3 separate regions of the Homo sapiens genome follow, and all the other regions are linked to region 1. The links are contacts of gene promoters, found by promoter capture Hi-C in human tissues and cell types (Jung and others, 2019). All regions are on one chromosome and are shown on one strand. The core of a region is centred on a gene start or on the middle of the fragment in contact, and the rest is flanking DNA. Distances in the headings are between cores, read along the strand shown. Region 1 holds the start of SP2 (Sp2 transcription factor). Region 2 overlaps CBX1 (chromobox 1). Region 3 holds the start of NFE2L1 (NFE2 like bZIP transcription factor 1).

Evidence for each region. Contacts are between HindIII fragments. The study calls those that stand out against the background at their distance.
Region 2: a contact is called between a fragment that was not itself captured here and the fragment with the promoter of SP2 in region 1, in 2 of the 25 tissues and cell types used here (heart right ventricle and neural progenitor cells).
Region 3: a contact is called between the fragment with the promoter of NFE2L1 here and the fragment with the promoter of SP2 in region 1, in 4 of the 25 tissues and cell types used here (hippocampus, liver, neural progenitor cells and 1 more).

The regions. Positions count from the first base shown.
Region 1 is chr17:47,894,409-47,897,868 of GRCh38, reverse strand. It overlaps SP2 (Sp2 transcription factor), which reads right to left and starts at 1,633. Exons shown (of 7, transcript NM_003110.6): 1 at 1,576-1,633. The coding sequence starts at 1,582. SP2-DT (SP2 divergent transcript) reads left to right here and starts at 2,053. Exons shown (of 3, transcript NR_135480.1): 1 at 2,053-2,166. RefSeq lists silencers at 1,134-1,563, 3,112-3,406. The HindIII fragment of the contact is 13,929 bases long and covers 1-3,460 here.
Region 2 is chr17:48,078,848-48,082,307 of GRCh38, reverse strand. All of the region lies in intron 1 of CBX1 (chromobox 1), which reads left to right. Among named protein-coding and RNA genes, the nearest start is that of CBX1, 21 kb to the left of the region's middle. The HindIII fragment of the contact is 4,479 bases long and covers 1-3,460 here.
Region 3 is chr17:48,046,953-48,050,412 of GRCh38, reverse strand. It overlaps NFE2L1 (NFE2 like bZIP transcription factor 1), which reads right to left and starts at 2,054. Exons shown (of 6, transcript NM_003204.3): 1 at 1,951-2,054. It overlaps NFE2L1-DT (NFE2L1 divergent transcript), which reads left to right and starts at 2,360. Exons shown (of 2, transcript NR_170231.1): 1 at 2,360-2,788; 2 at 3,443-3,460. It also overlaps a transcript of COPZ2 not described here. RefSeq lists a silencer at 1,645-1,924 and enhancers at 1,475-2,076, 2,335-2,574, 2,077-2,678, 2,645-2,834, 2,679-3,282. The HindIII fragment of the contact is 14,336 bases long and covers 1-3,460 here.

The DNA.
Region 1 (3,460 bases), core at 384-2,883:
CTGGAACACTGACATCATCAGCCCAATTGATAGGTTGTCTGATAGATTCGCCCCCTTCATCGCACACAAGAATTTAAAACAAAACAAGACACTGCAGTTATATTCATTATTGCAGACAATGGGTTTCTTTGTGTTAGTAATTGAAATTACTGCTGTGGTCTGGACTCCACCATTATTTCCTTTGCAGCCTGTGAGCCAGCCAACACTCTAAACTTTCTAGCCCTAAAAATTGTATCATCCAGAATACCAACTCAATACAGCCCTCCACTGTGAAACTGAATGCCTTCTGGGGTACAGCATGAAACCGTTTTAGACAGTGCATGCCAGTGCACCTTGAAACAGTGTCCATCTGTAATGAAATCTGTAAACGGGAAACTTGGGCCAATTCATTGTTTAAAGCAGATCTACTGGCTCATACCTTTCTCTAGGAAACAATAAGTGAACAAGAAGTAACCTCAGAAGAAGAAAGAACTTTGGGAGAATGCACTGAGAAAGGCCAGACTGAGTCCCCTTGGATGAAGTTAATTAAGAAACAAACATGACAGGATATTGCAATCAAAACCAAGGAATGCAGTGAGGACAGGTTTCTCAGTTGCCCAGAGGAGAAAACATAGTTCCTTCTGAACTAAAATTAGAAAGCCGCTGGCAAGGAAACATAAGAAGCATGGATAAGAGGCTGAAAACCGTAAGTCAGCAATGGGGATGGAGGTGGGTACAGGAAGAGAGCGAGTATCTATTTTGTTTTATTTCTTCTGTAATTCCTTAAGATTGTTTGCGCCTGAGCTTTGGGACTGCAGTAGTCTCCCCTACGGGGCGTCAAGTAACAGGCTGGGAGCTCTGGCAAGAAGTTCTCAAACTTCTCACAATTCTGCTAAGAGCTTGCAGATATCTAGCTGGAAGATCAAGGATCCAAGTAAAAACATTAAAGGAAGGTTTTTGCCCACTCCCCGGTGAGAGGTCATCTGCCCAGGGAGTGCTCTCGTGTCCTGACACCATCGCCCGACTGGGGATATATCAGTAACCGGGCTGTCGTCGATGCCGAGCAGTGCCCATCTGGTTGGCAGCGTCCGGGTCTCAAGCGTTCCCTCGCCCCTCTCTGTTCTCCGGGGAGCCCTGAATCGCTGGTGGGCATCTACAGTTAAGAGTGCAGGAAGGCCTCTCAGACACGGGGCGAACACAAGGGCTGTTGGCTGCCTCCTCAGAGCCGACCCAGGCATAGTTCGCCCAGGCGGGAGAGCGGCGTTGAAGTGGGTCGGCACCCGTCCGAGGGGTGCCAGGCCACCCCGGTGCCCGCTCCTCTCGCCGGCCCCCGGAAGCGCCGCCCTCCCGCCCGGCGGGCTCCGAGGGGGCGGGGAGTCGAACGCCCCCTTCCGGGTGCCTCCGCCCGGCTGGCCAGCCCCGCTCCTCCTCCGGGCGGGAATCCTCCCTCCCCCGCCCCTCCTGAAGCCGGGCCCCGACGCCAGACCCAGCCCCAGGGGGGAACCCCCGGCCTCGGCTCCCTCTCCCCGCGGCCTCTGCCCGTCTTCCTGACCCTTGGGGGCCGGGAAGACCCCGCCGGCAGCGGCCGGGACCCACCGCTCATTACGACATCTTCCTCCCTGGCCTCCGCCGCCTCCGCCGCCACCGAGAGCCTGACACCGCCCGCCAAGCAACCGCCAATCCCGGAGCCCGCCACCGCCCGAGCGACGGCAGCCTTCACCAATAAGCGCTTGGAACATTGGGGACCGACAGCACTATTAACCAATCAACCAGAGGCGTCTAGAGCGACGTTGATTTGACCAATAGGTCTGTGCAATGTCACTGATGGACGGTAGAGCGCACCAACCGAAAGCCAATTGAATAATGAGTGACATGTGCATCAGCCAATTGGAGGGAGGCAAAGTCCCGCCCGCTGGGTGGTTGATGTACAGCAACAGGAAGCTGGAAGGGGAGGGGCTTAGCCGAAGAGTGCTTTTGTATTGGTCGAGGTTGACCTTCCACCCACCTCTAACCCAGAGGATGAATGATAGATCTGCCCTGAAGCCAATCAGAAGTCCTTAGGGTGAGGCCCACAAATGCCCCAGAAATAGCATATACATTGCGCCCTAAGTCCAGTCTCGCCCAGGTGTGGCAGGAGCTTTTACCTGCTCTTCGGCAGTAGCCGGCTGCCACTCAACCCCATGCCTGGTGAGTGGAAAGCCATCAACCTTTTATTTAGTCCCTCTCTCGTTGTCGCCTGGGGAGGGGCGACTTTGTACAGTGAGGCACTGGGGTCCGGCACCATAGTGGGAGTTGGGGTTGTTTACGCGACACTTCTAAGGGGATTTTCACAATCGGTTAAGCCCCCGTTAATCCTCACATGGTTATTGCGGCGACCCCCATAGCCCACGGTCCCAAACGTGTGCATCTGAATCATCCGAAGCTCTTTCTAAAGGCAGGCTCCCCTGGCCGCCTCTCCTAATCCGACTCGGTACTTCACGGGGCGTGCCTAGAATCTGCATTTTAGCAAGGGCCTCGCGTGGACAGAATTGCACGCTTGAGTTTGAGAAGTACTGCTTGGCCTCTGCCCCACTTACCCTTACCTTCTTGAGATGAGGTAAAGCACTTGGTAGGCACTAGGCGGGTAGGTTTATCTTTGCTCCCAAGTCTCTTCCGAGAACTTGGGAAGGCTGCCTAGCTTAGTGAGGGAATCCATTCTGGCTTCAGACCAGTCTGGGTTTGAAACCTACACATCCCACTAACTTAGGCAGGGTACCGAAACTCCCTGAGCTTCATGTCCTCATCAGTAAAACGAGGTTAATCACACCTACACCTTAGCGCGATGGCTTAAAAAAAAAAAAAAAAAAAACAAACAAAAAAAAACATAGTCCATCAAGAGAAATACATTTTGCATACAGACCAGTACACTGCTATTTGTATGAGAGTGTCATAAAGTTTCCGAAAACAATGCTTACTACTTGTGACGCACTGATAGTTTCTATGCTTATCCTATCCTATCTTATTCTCCTTCTTGTTGATCATGACTGGCAGTTTGAAAAACACTGCTAGAAAAGGTTGGTGTGATAATACAAAATGCAGAGCAGAATACCGGGTACACAGTAATTGCTGAATAAATGTTAATAGCCTCTTCCAGTCTTCTCCTCTCAGTGTTAGCCTTTGAAAAACAAGACTTTAGACAATAATACTCCTCTAGTAAAGATCCTTCATGGGATCCGTATCTCCTAGATAAAGCCCAAACTCCTTTCTAGGCAAAGTCCTCCCACTCTTTTTTCTTCTTAACCTCAGCATCCACCAGAGGACACACTCTTACTGGTGTATCTTTCATGCTTTATCTCCTCCCTCTACCCCCGTTCCCTTCCTACAAATCCTACCCTTTTCCCTCCAGGAAAGATTCCAGGTTCCTAAACACTTACGCTTTTTTCCACTAGTTGACTTCCTATGTGACCCTTCCCTTCTGGTAAACCCCTATGCATCCATGGCC
Region 2 (3,460 bases), core at 388-2,887, 180 kb before region 1:
GATGGGCTCGATCTCCTGACCTCGTGATCTGCCCACCTCAGCCTCCCAAAGTGCTGGGATTACAGGTGTGAGCCACCACGCCCAGCCTCTTTATCATTTTTTTAAAGACAGTCTTGCTTCCTCACCCAGGCTGGAGTGCAGTGGCACAATCACAGCTCACAGCAGCCTCAACCTCCTGTGCTTAAGCGATCCTCCCAGCACACCCAGCTGATTATTTTTTGTAGAGATGGGGTCTCACTACGTTGCCCAGGCTGGTCTCAAACTCCTGGGCTCAAGCAGTCCTTCTGCCTAGGCCTTCCAAAGTGCTGGAATTACAGGTGTGTGCTGCCGAGCCCTGACCTCTCTACTGATTTTGACAAATAGCTTTCTTGAAACCCTAGAGAACTAATTGTAAACAAAAAAACACGTTGGGAAGGCTGGCTGGGAATCTCCAGTAATACAGTATCTCTGGATGTAGATGCTCTGGGATGAGCCAGTAAAGAAAGCTCAGGAAGAAGCGGGGATCTGTTTTCTATATTCTTCTTATTTGAGTTGCTCTTAAGACAGTACTTAAAAAGTAAGGAAAGGGCCAGGCTCAGTGGCTTAGGCCTGTAATCCCAGCACTTTGGGAGGCCGAGGCAGGCAGATCACCTGAGGTCAGGAGTTCGAGACCAGCCTGGCCAACATGGTGAAATCTTGTCTCTACTAAGAGTATTAAAAAAATTAGCTGGGCATGGTGGTGAGCGCCTGTAATCCTAGCTCTTTGAGAGGCTGAGACAGGAGAATCGCTTGAACTCAGGAGGTGAAGGTTGCAGTGAGCTGAGAGTGCTCCATTGCACTCCAGCCTGGGCGACAAGAGCGAAACTCTGTCTCAAAAAATAAAAGTGAGTAAAGATCGAAGTCATGAGAATGCTTTACTTTAGATTTCCCCATTTGGGCGCTTTCTTTACCTAACAATTATGCCATTCTATGACTGTTCCTCTCTGAGGCCATGCTAATTAATGATAAAGGGAGGATAAGCTTGCAGTAGGTAGAGATCAGTTAGAAGCTATGCTGACCCTTTCGGCTCATAGCAGAAGGATCAGGTGGATAATAGTCAGTGCTGTTTTATTTTTTGGCCAGATCTCATGCCAGTAATCCCAGCACTTTGGGAGGTCAAGGCAGGTGGATCGCTTGAGCCCAGGGGTTCAAGACCAGCATTGGCAACATGGCAAAAACCCTTCTCTACCGAAAATACAAAAATTAGGCAGTCTCATAACCTGGTCTCTAAATAAGCAAATAAATAGATTAAACTTTTCAAAAAGAAATGCTATTTATTTTTCTAAGACAAATTTTATATATATATATATATATATATATATATATATATATATATATTTTTTTTTTTTTTTTTTTTTTTTTTTTTTTTTGAGATGGAGTCTCGCTCTGTCACCAGGCTGGAGTGCAGTGGCGCGATCTCGGCTCACTGCAACCTCCGCCTCCCGGGTTCAAGCAATTCTCCTGCCTCAGCCTCCCGAGTAGCTGGCACTACAGGCGAGCGCCACCATACCCAGCTAATTTTTATACTTTTAGTAGAGATGGGGTTTCGCCATATTGGCCAAGCTGGTCTCGAACTCCTGACCTTGTGATCTGCCTGCCTCAGTCTCCCAAAGTGCTGGGATTACAGGCGTGAACCACCGCACCCAGCCTTGTAGATGGACTCTAAGTGCATTCTGTCTATACATGCCAGTTTTACAGTGTTTAGAAAACTTAATGATTACACTAAGTAAGCTTCCTTTCCTAAGGATGCTAGGAATAACCAGTTTAACCTCAAATTGGTATTATTTTAAACTCAAGCGGAGACGTAACTCTTCCTTGTCTTGGATTACCTGCCATCCAGGTAATTCTTTGGCCAGTTTTGTTGATCAATTTTGTTTCATTGATACAGTGCCATCTACTGACAAAAATTGGTAATCATAAGGCTTTAAGTCTGTCAGAAGTCAAAGAGTTGGGTCCGGGCACGGTAGCTCATGCCTGTTAATTCCAGAGTTTTGGGAAACCAAAACGGGCAGATCACTTGAGGTCAGGAGTTCGAGACCAGCCTGGCCAACATGCTGAAACCCCATCTCTACTAAATATACAAAAATCAACTGGGCCTGGTGGCAGGTGCCTGTAGTCCTAGCTACTCAGGAGGCTGAGGCATGAGAATCACTTGAACCCTAGAGGCGTAGGTGAGCCGAGATAGCACCATTGCACTGCAGCCTGGGCGACAGAGGGAGACTGTGTCCCCCTCCCCCAAAAAAGTCAAATTTGGATGAAGGACTAAATAAAATAGATTTATAAGGGACTAAAATTTCAACACTGGAAAAACCCTTAGATGTTACCTAGCTTGATGATGTATTTTATAAAGGAGTAAACTCAGATTCTATTATCTTTGATAACTACAGTTCTGTTTTCCCCACACTTGTTTTCCAAATTTTTACAGGGTTCCAGTTTAGAGAATTTCATGATCATTCTGGCATTTTTATGACTCTTCCTTAGTTTTTAGAAATAAATTGGAGGCCAGGTGTGATGGCTTATGTCTGTAATCCCAGTAGGAGGCTGAGGTGGGAGGATCACTTGAGCCTGGGAGTTTGAAACAAGCCTGGGCAACATATTGAGAACTTGTCTCTACTAAAAATTTAAAAAATTAGCCAGGCATGGTGGCGCACACCTGTGGTTCCAGCTACTCAGGAGACTGAGGCAGCGGGATCACTTGAGCCCAGGAGGTCAAAGCTGCAATGAGCCATAATTACTTCACTGCATTCCATCCTAGGTGATAGAGTGAGACACTGTCTCAAAAAAGAAAAAAAGTTGTAAAATAAACTAAATACAATAAGTTAACAAGAAATTTGTGAATCGTAAGTTCAATTCAGAAAAGACTGCATAAAGAACAAGAGAACATGGCTGGGCACAGTGGCTCATGCCTGTAATCCCAGCACTTTGGGAGGCCATGGCGGGTGGATCACTTGAGGTCAGGAGTTCGAGACCAGCTTGGCCAACATGGCGAATCCCTGTCTCTACTAAAAAAACAAAAACTAGCTGGGCATGGTGGCACACACCTGTAGTCCCAGCTACTCAGGAGGCTGAGGCAAAAGAATCACTTGAACCCAGGTGGCGGAGGTTGCAGTGAGCCAAGACTGTGCCACTGCACTCCAGCCCGGCTGGAGTGAGACTCCATCTCAAAGAGGGGGAGGTGCGGGGCCGGGGCTGGAGCTGGGTTCGGTGGCTCACGCCTGTAATCCCAGCACTTTGGGAGGCCAGCACGGGTGAATCACGAAGTCACGAGTTTGAGACCAGCCTGGCAGCTTGACCAACGTTGGTGAAACCCTGTCTCTGCTAAAAATACAAAAATTAGCCGGGCGTGGTAGCTCACACCTGTAGTCCCAGCTACTCAGGAGGCTGAGACAGGAGAATCACTTGAACCCGGGAGGCAGAGGTTGCAGTGAGCCGAGATTGTGCC
Region 3 (3,460 bases), core at 805-3,304, 150 kb before region 1:
CCACCTTCTGCATTCAAGCGATTCTCCTGCCTCAGCCTCCCAAGTATCTGGGATTACAGGCGCCTGCCACCACGCCCTGCTAATTTTTGTATTTTTAGTAGAGATGGGGTTTCACTATGTTGGCCAGGCTGGTCTCAAGCTCCTGACCTCAGGTGATCTGCCCGCCTCGGCCCCCCAAAGTGCTGGGATCACAGGCGTGAGCCACTGTGCCTGGCCTAAAGGCCACTTTTACAGGAAGAAAGGACTACTTACACTCTCAGAAAAAAAACCCAAAATATAGCAACCGATCATAGAAGAACTATCAAAGAAAGCTACTGATCACGAATGATCTCAGTTACTGAATATTAAATGTGCAATATCCTAAAATGTAGCTTGGTTTGAATAAGCAGACAATAACCAGGTCATCCAAAATATCTTACACCTTTGTTTTATTTACCAGCCCTCCTCCCCCACTACAGGCGCATTACCCAGCTTCTATTTTCACATGAGAAGCCCATTTCCTGTCTTAAAAGTAAAGCTGGATTTTCACCCCTCGGGAGAAAACCACCCATAACAGTTGTCTTTTCTCAGTTCAAAAAGGCAAGATTATTAAACAGTGAGAGTGTGGAAGGACAAAAGGACAATGTTCAGGCCACCACTTCACCCAGAAGAAGAATGCCTTTTGTTTTCTGAACTTTGAAATCTGATTTCCCTTTCCTATCCTCACAACTTACAAAAGAAAAAAAAGGAAAAGGGCCGACGCCTGTAATCCCAGCACTTCGGGAGGCCGAGGAGGGCGGATCACCCGAGGTCGGGAGTTTGAGACCAGCCTGAACAACATGGAGAAACCCCATCTCAACTAAAAATACAAAAATTAGCCGGGCGTGGTGGCGCATGCCTGTAATCCCAGCTACTCGGGAGGCTGAGACAGGAGAATCGCTTGAACCCAGGAAACGGAGGTTGTGGTGGGCCGATATCGCGCCACTGCACTCCAGCCTGGGCAACAAGAGCAAAACTCCGTCTCAAAAAAAGAAAAAAAAGAAAGAAAAGAAAAGGAAAGAAAAAAAGGAGAGGGATGGTGGGGGCCCTACTACGCAGGACTATTCCGTCCAGAATTTGCATAGGCAGGTTTTATTTTCATTCATATGACCTTCTGAGCCAAAGCAGAAGGATATGGCCACGTTCTCTAGCCAGACTGCCCAGTGCAGAGGAAGTAAATCTGTTTCTGGTCTCCACTTTTGAGCTTCCATTAATGTCACAAACCAAGACATACCGCCTCTCCTCTCCTGCGTTGTGACCCATCTACCAACTTCATTCTACAGGGGGAGAGCGAGCTATACGTACACACACGAACGTGCGCACACACACACACTCACACTCCCTCTCTCTGGTCAGAGTAAACACAATTGCGACCCAGAATTCCTGCTTACGCTACCCTCCCGTTCTCACGCAATTTATTACTAAAACCTCCCAGGAGCCAATTAAGTTCGAGGAACCGGACAAAGTCCCTTAAAAATCAAGTAGGTGCAGGGCCCATAGCCTGAGGCTGGTCCCACCCTGCCCGGATACCCGAGTCCGGCTGAGACCAAGTCGCCATGCCCACTCTCGGCGCCGGAGCTTCTAGCCTCCAGGGGCGGCCAGCGAACAAGTGCTACTTCCCTGGCCTTGACCCACCCTTACAGCAAACCCCACCCCGCCCTCCGTCCCGATGGCCCCACCCCACTCCCAAGTCCAGGCCTCACACCACGCCTTCTCGTGCCCTCAACCCTGCCCAGTCCATCCCACCCCGGAGCCAGCTTTCCTCTCGGCCCCGCGCGGGGCCCCTCCCTGTCAGGCCCAGGGCCGGGCTCTGGCGGGAACCCCGCTCGGCCCCCGCCTCCTGCACCTCAGCACCATCCCGTCGCCCCATAAGCCTCGGCCCCGCGGCGCTGCAACCCTCCCTTCTGGGAAAGGAATGTGCCCGATACCCACTGCTTAGCTCGGCGTCCGCCGCTGCCTCCACAGCAGGCCCTAAGCCCGAGTCCCGGCCTCGCCGCCGCCACCGCCGGCCGGCCTAGAGCTCGGAGCCTCCGCTTACCTCCCCGCCCCCTCCTGCTACCGCACTCGGAAACCCGCCCGCCGCAAACACCCTAGGAACAGTTTCTCCAATCAACGAGCCGAGGCCGGGGCCGTCGACGGATGTCCCTCTGATTGGCAGCAGAGAGGGCCCAATGGCTGAGTGTACCTCCTCATCCCCGGACCTGATTTCCCAAGACTGACATAATTCCCGGCCCAATGAGTACCTAGGCCCGCCCCGCGGTATGGACCCACCAATGAGGAGGGCGAAGGCCCTAGTGTCTGGCATTCTGGGCCCCTCGGCCGCGCCTTCGCGGCGGGCGATGTTAGTGGGCTTGGGCGTTGGGTGAAGTATCCAGGTTGGGCGCTTCCAGCGCTTTCTGTGGCGGGGGAATGAAGGCCTAGGTCAGGGAATAGGAAGGTGTATCGCCGCCAGAGTGCGGAACACCCTCGCCTTGAGGGTTCCCACAGTGACTTGCAAAAGTCTAGTGAGACCCGAGAATGCTGAGGCGGGACACGAAGCATGTGGTTCTTGTGGTTGCGACGCTCGTGCCGCCATCTTGGGTGCTGGCGGCGGAAACCGGTACCCCAACTTCCCCTCGGTGCGAACCTGGAGAAGCCACCCCAGCTGTGAGGGACGGTTGCGCCTCATGGCCCAGGCAAGGGTACCTTCGCTGGAGCAGTACCGCGGACGGATATCATGAGGGTGGTGGGACGTTGGCGGAACGTTGGCGGAACGTTGGCGGTGTGAGAGGTGTGGGGTAATGGCGATTTTTGTCATGGTAGAAACAGCCCAAAGGACCCCCCTCGTTTGGCCTCCCACGCAGCTTAGTCTTGCTTTTTTAGGGATGTTTCTCATTTTTTAATTTCTCCAGTCCCATCTGGTTATATTGCCAAAACATGTTTGTGACTCTCAAACGTTAGTTTACTCCCAGCATCACTTGGGGAGCTTGCTAAGCTACGAATTCCGAGGTCCCACTGGAGAGTCTGATTTAATGACCCTGGAGTGGCGGCCGGATAACCTGCCTGCTGGGGTGATTTTAACGCAGCTGATGCGAAGACCCCATTTAGGGAATCATTGGGTTGGCGTTTGCAATGCGTTCCTCCCAGCTATAGGACAAAGAGGTGTCAACTCAACTGTGTCTTCTTAGAAGAGCCCATTATTTATAGGTGAGTCATTAGTCCCTGTACAACTAAGGACAAGGCCAACTGATAACTCAGTAAATAATCGAGTCCATTTTGTGCTTGCGAGTTAGGGGCTTAATTTGGGGTGGTTTGCAGATTAAGTACTTTCACTGCATATAATAAACGTACACCAGCAAACCACTCATGGAATTCTTAAAAAAACTTCTGAGCTAGTTTACCAGTTTCAAAGACTAATTCAGAGAGCATGTTTTACCTATTCTAGGCTGGACTGGAACTCCTG